3 separate regions of the Homo sapiens genome follow, and regions 2 and 3 are each linked to region 1. The links are contacts of gene promoters, found by promoter capture Hi-C in blood cells and fetal thymus (Javierre and others, 2016). All regions are on one chromosome and are shown on one strand. The core of a region is centred on a gene start or on the middle of the fragment in contact, and the rest is flanking DNA. Distances in the headings are between cores, read along the strand shown. Region 1 holds the start of HSDL2 (hydroxysteroid dehydrogenase like 2). Region 2 overlaps SHOC1 (shortage in chiasmata 1). Region 3 has its middle 24 kb from the start of SHOC1.

Region 1 (2,679 bases), core at 82-2,581:
ATTTGCAAATTCCTCTGGAGCCTCTAAAGACCGTATCATGAATCATCAATTCAAATGCCTACAGGAGTCGGGCAGGTGATATGCAGGAGGAAATAGAGTCATTTAGGGCCCATAACAAAGGGGAGAGAGGCCGGGCGCGGAGGCTCACGCCTGTAATCCCAGCACTTTGGAAGGCCGAGGCGGGCCAATCATTTGAGGTCAGGAGCTCGAGACCAGCCAGCCCAACATGGCGAAACCCCGTCTCTACTAAAAACACAAAAAAATTAGCCAGGCGTGGTGATGCATGCCTGTAGTCCCAGCTACTCCGGAGGCTGAGGGAGGAGAATCACTTGAACCCGGGAGGCGGAGGTTACAATGAGCCGAGATCCGCGCCACTGCACTTCAGCGTGGGCGACAGCGAGACTCCGTCTCAAAAAACAAAACAAAAACAAAGGAGAGAGTACATAAGCCATCTCCAGGCTAGTTTCTTTAACTAGTCTTCATATAATAATCTCCTCAAGGTCCTGTTCTATCCCTACAAAATACAAAACAGTTCCTCGTGTCTTCCTTCAAATATACTACAGTCTTTAGCTCATCAGAGTAGCTGAGTTAGTCCAAGGCATAATCCCAAAAGCGAAACTGAATGTCAGAATTGATCTCATTTCAACACTCATTCCAGAAGTAGAAACTTCTGCAAGTTCAGCTTTTGACTATGAATTCTTCAGCGCGACTTTTGCAGAGAGCTCTGTTCCAAGAAGCTGGCGCCTTAACACAAGCTATCTACCGATGCACAAGGGAAGGCTGGCTTGGGTCCAGATTCGGCGGGAGAGTGGAAACGCGACGCTGGCCGACTTCAGCCACAAAGGCAATTTCTGCCCAGGGCTAGCGTTCCTAAGAGGGGGCCGAGAGAACGCCAGGCTCGGGCGTAGGGGCAAGAAGACCCAGAGCTAACGCACCTCTCGGAGGGCCCAAGCTCAGGGCTCAGTCACCCTCCCAGCTCGGAGCCGGCGCTGGAACACAGCGGCGCGAGGAGAAACCCCTAGAGACAGGGAAAAGGTGGACGTAGCGGCTGACGCTGCCCAGACGCTAGGCGCCGACAGGAGCCTGATTGTCACCGTACGACCAGTGAGGGGGCGGGGCGGAGCTGTGCCTCAAAGCGCCTGCGCGGAGAGCCTGCAATCAGGGACCAGGCTTGGGAGGCGACGAAGAGGAACGCTGGGCGCAGGAGGCCCACTGCATACGCAGGCGCACTCGGCGATCCCGGCTTTTCCGCGCGCAGTTCCCGCACAGGCATCGGGGGGGGCAGGGGCGGGGCAGGGGCGGGGATAAATGCGGAGGGACGGTCCAGCTTTAGCTCTCTGCTCGCCGCCGCCGCTGTCGCCGCCACCTCCTCTGATCTACGAAAGTCATGTTACCCAACACCGGGTAAGGGGGTAGGGGCGGCGCGGGGAGAGACCCTGTCGGGCGAAGGGCGCGTCTCGGTGGGGCCGCCGCGGATCGCCCGGGCTGGCCGGCCCGGCTGTGGGAGGTCAAGGATACTGCCTGGGCACGCTCTGAGCTCTGGTCCGCGCTGGGCACTGTGCACCGAGAATCTGCGGTAACGTGTGAAAAGGAACACAAACTTTTGTATTACAGGATGGCAGCAGTGTAGAAACCTTTTCCACGGGTAAAGGGCCGAGGGGGAGTCACCACGCCGCCCCCAGTGCCGGCCCTCCCTGAGTTTAGCAGGAGTGCGTGCCTGGCCGAATGCGTGTGAGTTCTAGGTGAAAGGTCGCAGGAGCAGCTCCAGAGTTTAAAGAGTTTTCACTTGTTCCTGACGCTCAATTCTAGAGTAATAATGGAGTGTTTAAAAAATGATTTCCAAATTAGAAACTAAACCGATCTTAAAACATGGGTATCTTTGGGGGATTTTTTTTTCACCTTAAAAAATTGTGTTAAAATACGTACAAAATCTGCCATCTTAACCGTTTTTTAAGTGTACACTTCAGTAGTGTTAAGTAGATTCATATCGTTGTGCAGTCAATCTCCAGAACTTTTTTCATCTGCAAGCTGAAACTCTATCCATGAAACAACTCCTCTTCCCCACCTCCGCTCGTACATTGGCAACCACCATTCTACTTTCTGGTTTATGTAAGGTCTGGGTATCTTGAGTTGAGTGACGTGTTGTCAGATTTTGTAATTTGCCTGAAACATGCAGGCATATAGCCAAAGACTTAAAACAGTTCAAAGAGTATAGGGTAAAAAGTGAGTCTCCCCATCCCTAAAATCTAGTTCCCCAGTTACTTACGTTTCTATTTCGTGCATGTATGAACATAATTTGTATACATCCGGATACACACACACACACACACACACACACACATACCCTTTCTTAAAAATAGCAGCAGACTCTATTCTTGGTCTTGCTACTTTTAGTTGGTATGTCTTGGGACATTCTTTCTTTGTTTTTTTTAAAGACGGGGTCTCCCATGTTGCCCAGACTGGCCTGTAGCCTTGAACTCCCAGGCTGATGTTCCTCCCTTCTTAGCCTCTGGAGTATTTAGGATTACAGGCATGCACCGCTGTGCCCAGGGACATACATTTTTAGTACATGGCAGATCTTCCGCCTCCTTTTTTTTTCTTTTGAGATGGAGTCTCGCTCTGTCTTCCAGTCTGGAGTGCAGTGGCATGATCTCGGCTCACTGCAGCCTCCGCCTCCCG
Region 2 (2,679 bases), core at 88-2,587, 610 kb before region 1:
TTCTTTCTGCCCTCTGCCTTTGCTCAGCTCCCTTTTGAACATCAAGAATTCTTAGATTTGGTTTTTGAGGTAATTTTCTATATCTTGTAGGCAGTTTTTGTTCTTTTTCTTTCTTTTTTCTTTTTTCTCCTCTGACTGTATTTTCAAATAGCTGGTCTTTGAGCTCACTGATTCTTCCCTCTGGTTGTTCCATTTGGATGTTGAGAGCCTCTAATTAGTTGTTCAGCTCAGCAAACGTATTTCTCAGTTCCAAAATTTGTTTGAGTTTTTAAAGTTAACTTTAAAAATTTAACAAATTCTCTTTGTTAAATTTCTCCAGCAATTTTCTGAATTGCTTTTCTGTATTATTTTAGAGATCACTGAATTTCCTTGAAACTGCTCTTTTGAATTTTTGGTCAGAGAGCTCACAAATGACTGTCTTGTTAGGGTCGGTCACTGGATTTTTCCTTTGTCCTTTTGCAGAGGTCACATTTCCCTATTCAGTGTTGTTTCTTGTGGGTATATGTCTATGTCTTTGCATTGAAGGATTGGTTATTTATTCCAGCTTCCTCTATTCAACTTGTCTTGGTTTTTATTGGATATATTTTCTTAGCAAATCTTCACTACTATTGCCTTTTTCTTGGCTATAGGTGATATCTTAAGCCCAGGTTTGCCTTGCCTCTAGCAAATGGTCAGGGCACTGTCTGCCCCAAATGGGAGAGTCTGAAAATGATTATCCCAACAGTGACAGAAGTCTGGCTAGAGGTTCGTGCCCAAGGGACCTGTGGCACAAATTAGCTATTGTGATTTGGCTCCTTTGCCTGAGTTACCGAGCAGAGTTTCCAGGGCTGGGGAAGGTAGTCCCTTCTCCCCTCTTTGTCTCTCCTTTCAGGCAGTCATGATGCTTTCCACAGGTTAAATAAAGAAGTCTCCTGCCAGGGAATCCAAGATGGAGGGAAAGCTAGTTGACTATGCCACTCTCACTTTTTCCAGCATAGAAACCATGAGTTTGGGGAAGATTTTCCATGTGGTTGTTGTCAGGCAGAATGGGCAGGGTGGGGCATCATGGATATGGAAGTTGGATTCTCCTACCGTCTGCTTGAAGTTTTTTCACTTCTCTGTGTCCCTAGGATCTGTCTCATCCTCATATTTGAGATGTGAGTTGTTGCTAGTGAAAATTTTGGCATTGTATATTTGTTTTTGGTTTCCCATATGAGCAGTGAAGCCAGCTTGCTTCTGTGCCACCATTTTAAAACGATAAGTCAGATTACTGCTTTTTATTGTAAACTTTAACAAACTATTTGACTCTCTAAACTATATGCATATGCAACTTTATTTATTTTATTTTATTTTTATTTATTATTTTTTGAGATGGAGTTTCACTCTTGTTGCCTAGGCTGGAGGGCAATGGTGTGATCTCGGCTCATGGCAACCTCTGCCTCCCAGGTTCAAGTGATTCTCCTGCCTCAGCCTCCCAAATAGCTGAGATTACAGGTGCCTGCCACTACGCCCAGCTAATTTTGTATTTTTGGTAGAGACAGGGTTTCACCACGTTGGCCAGGCTGGTTTCGAACGCCTGACCCCAGGTGATCCACCCGCCTCAGTCTCCCAAAGTGATGGAATTACAGGCATGAGCTACTGTGGCTGGCCTAACTTTATTTTTTAAAATAAAAATAAAAGCTACATTTATATTTGTTTATATGTTCCCAGGATACCTAGAGAGATGCTTAAGAGTTTCATGTATTAACAAATAATATGTGAACATTGTAGAAAAATTAGCAAATATCAATAAACCAACAACCATAAAAGAAAACCAGCCACTGTTTTATGTTTTAAAGATATATGTGTTTTGAAATTATAATTTAGTAATTATTTATAATTCTTATAAGACATAGCATATTTACAAATCCCCAAATATACTATGTTCCTTTTGATTTAGACAATAAGACCAAATTATCTACAAATCTGGCAGCAATCAATATAATTGCAAAGAAAATAAATAAAATTAAAAATCTAAATTTATAAAGTGATGTCCGGTGACACAGGACACCTGAGGAAATATAGGATATGGACAATGTGTATGCATTTGGGAAATTCAAGCATATTTTCTCTCAGTCAATAGTTGATTCTAGCCGACAGTAGCTTCTAGTTTGCCACATTTATACTACTATGTTTGTGTAACCCATTAGTTTTTATAAGCCATCTCTTTAAATATACTTATATAAACTTACATATATTAGTTTATCCCCACAAAAAATTATTAAAAAATAGAAGAATATATAATAGAAATAAATTATAGAACAAAATTTAAAAATCTTAAAAATTTTCTCCCAAATCTCAAAACCACTTTTTCTCCAGACAGGGTCTCACTCTGTCACCCAAGCTGGAGTGCAGTGGCACGATCATGGCTTACTACAGCCTTGAACACCTGGGTTCAAGCAATCTTCCCACTTCAGCCTTACAAATAGCTAGGACTACAGAACTGCCACCACACCTGGCTAATTTTTAACAATCTTTTTGTGGAGACAGGGTCTTGCCATGTTGCCCAGGCTGGTCTCAAACTCCTGGCCTCAAGTGATGTTCCACTTTTTACGAGTAGACTTGGACTGAAAATTCAAGTCTTCTGACTCCAAATTCAGGCTCTTTCTACTATATCATGCTCTCAAGTTTTAGTTCTTAATGCAACTAATCTCTCTATCT
Region 3 (2,679 bases), core at 59-2,558, 560 kb before region 1:
TAGGTGGTTGGAAAGCGGAGAGTGCTGATTGGTCGAGTCAGAGGTGAAATCATAAGGAGTCAAAGCTGTTCCTTTGCACTGAGCCGGTTCCTGGGTAGGGACCACAAGACCAGATGAGCCAATTTATCGATCTAGTTGGTGCCACCTGATCCACTGAGTGCAAGGTCTGGAAAATATCTCAAATGCTGATCTTAGGTTTTATAATAGTCTTGTTATTCTCAGGAGAAATTTGAGAGGTTCAGAATCTTGCAGCCTCCAGCCACAGGACTCCTAAACCATAATTTCTAATCTTGTGGCTAATTTATTAGTCCTACAAAACCAATCTAATCTCTAGTCAGAAAGGGAGTTTGTTTTGGGAAAGAGCTGTTATCTTCTTTGTTTCAAAGTTAAACTATAAACTAAATTCCTCTCAAAGTTAGTTTGGCCTCCACCCTGGAATGAACAAGGACACCTTGGAGGTTAGAAGCAAGACGGAGTCGGTTAGGTCAGATCGTTTTCACTGTAATAATTTTCTCAGTTATACTTTTTGCAAAGGTGGTTTCAGAAAAACCTTCAAAAGTTCCCAGTATGGCGGCTCCTCATAAAATGAAAATAGAATTATCATATGATCCAGCAATTTCACTTCTAGATATTTACCCAAAAGAATTGAAAGCAGGGACTCAGATATTTGTACATCCATGTTCATGGCAGCTTTATTCACAATAGCCAACAGCTGGAAACAATCCAAATGCCTATCAACAGATAAATGGATAAATAAAATGTGATGTATCCATACAATGGAATAGTATTCAGCCTTTGAAAGGAGTGAAATTCTGAAACATGCTAAACATGGATGAACCTATAAAACATTACGCTAAATGAGCTGGGCATGGTGGCTCACACCTGTAATCCCAGCACTTTTGGAGGCCAAGGCGGGTGGATCACGAGGTCAGGAGATCAGGACCATCCTGGCTAACACGGTGAAACCCCGTCTCTACTAAAAATACAAAAAATTAGCCGGGCATGGTGGCACGTGCCTGTAGTCCCACCTACTCTGGAGGCTGATTCAGGAGAATCGCTTGAACCCAGGTGGTGGAGATTGCAGTGAGCTAAGATCGCGCCACTGCACTCCAGCCTGGGTGACAGAGTGAGACTATGGCTCAAAAAAAAAAAAAAAAAAAAAAAATTGTGCTAAGTGAAATGAGCTAGATGCAAAAGGACAAATCCTGTAGGATTCCACTTATGTGAAATATTTAGAACGGTCAAATTCATACAGACAGAAAGTAGAAAAGTGGTTACCAGGGGCTAGAGGGAGGAGAGAATACAGAGCTATTCTTTAATAGGTACTGAGCTTCAGTTTGGGGTGATGAAAGTATTGCGGAGATGGATAGTGATGATGGTGGCTCAACAATATAAAGACGAGCAAGAATGCCACTGAAATGTACACTTTAAATGATTAAAATGAAAATTCTTATATATATTTTACCATAGTTTTAAAAAATCTAATTAAAAAAAACTAAAGAAGGACAAAAATGACTGAAAGTGAGGCCAGTGGACCTGGAGAGGTCAGGATGAGGAAGACTTAGAGTGACTTGTGAGGTCCTGGGGACTGATGAGCCAAGTGGGCACAGACATTTCAGCACCGTTATAGGGGGGATAGGCAACCAATACAAAAGAAACAGATTATTCATCTTAGAAGAAGCCAACTAGGTGGTTTGCTGAAGCCCATAAACCATGTTCCTCTTTCCCAAAGTCAGGATGATAGACCACCCAGGAGGACTTGGATCATTCAGAACCTAGATGTTACACCCCAAGAAGGGAGAGAAGGAAGTAAAAGGAGAAAATCCTAATTTGACTATTTAACCAAAAAAGATTGAGTTTAAACTGCAAGTAACTGAGATTACTTTGGATTACAGAGTTAGGTTTTCCATTATCAGTGAAATAACCCATGAGCTAAAGTGAGTTATAAGGAAATCATTTACATTTTGCACACATGAATGTGACTGAGAAATGTATTTCCATTGTGTTGTTATATACCTTTTCTAAACCTAAAACTAAGGTGTTTCTCAAATCTGTGGCAATAATGGGGCACTTTGGTGTGGAACAGGGAGTTCTTGGTTCAAGATTATTGCATCTTCTTTGCACTCACCATCTGATACAACCACATAGTCATATTGATGGTCATCTTCTAGACCAACCCCAGAACATGGGTATTTATGAAGCTGGATCTTTGGGGTACCTACAGTTAAAACAATGAACAAACATGGCTCTTCAGGTCCCATGTGGCACCTAGGCCTTTGAGAACATCTCTCTTTTTTTTTTTTTTTTTTTGAGACAGTCTCGCTGTGTCGCCCAGGCTGGAGTTCAGTGGCGCGATCTCGGCTCACTGCAAGCTCTGCCTCCCAGGTTCAGGCAATTCTCCTGCCTCAGCCTCCTGAGTAGCTGGGACTACAGGCGCCCGCCACCACACCCGGCTAATTTTTTCTATTTTTAGTAGAGATGGGGGTTCACCGGGTTAGTCCGGATGGTCCCAAGCTCCTGACCTCGTGATACAGCTGCCTCAGCCTCCCAAAGTGCTGGGATTACAGGCGTGAGCCCCCGCGCCTGGTCCCGAGAACATCTTTATACTGTTTGGATAACCCTCCTACCAGCATCTTCCAGTGGTTAATGATAAGGATCAAGAAGGGCCTCCTAAGCTAG

The links. Contacts are between HindIII fragments. The CHiCAGO score rates a contact against its expected background, and 5 or more counts as called.
Region 2: a contact is called between a fragment that was not itself captured here and the fragment with the promoter of HSDL2 in region 1, in 1 of 17 cell types (total B cells). The highest score is 5.5, in total B cells.
Region 3: a fragment that was not itself captured here is called in contact with the fragment with the promoter of HSDL2 in region 1 in 1 of 17 cell types (M1 macrophages); the score reaches 5.0 in M1 macrophages.

Annotation. Positions count from the first base shown.
Region 1 is chr9:112,378,777-112,381,455 of GRCh38, forward strand. HSDL2 (hydroxysteroid dehydrogenase like 2) reads left to right here and starts at 1,332. Exons shown (of 11, transcript NM_032303.5): 1 at 1,332-1,404. The coding sequence starts at 1,388. It also overlaps a transcript of PTBP3 not described here. RefSeq lists enhancers at 516-565, 666-915, 915-1,514, 946-1,065 and a silencer at 1,286-1,535. The HindIII fragment of the contact is 10,070 bases long and covers 1-2,679 here.
Region 2 is chr9:111,771,983-111,774,661 of GRCh38, forward strand. The region is part of intron 5 of SHOC1 (shortage in chiasmata 1); the gene reads right to left. Among named protein-coding and RNA genes, the nearest start is that of SHOC1, 22 kb to the right of the region's middle. The HindIII fragment of the contact is 4,685 bases long and covers 1-2,679 here.
Region 3 is chr9:111,817,435-111,820,113 of GRCh38, forward strand. No RefSeq gene overlaps it. Among named protein-coding and RNA genes, the nearest start is that of SHOC1, 24 kb to the left of the region's middle. The HindIII fragment of the contact is 3,992 bases long and covers 1-2,679 here.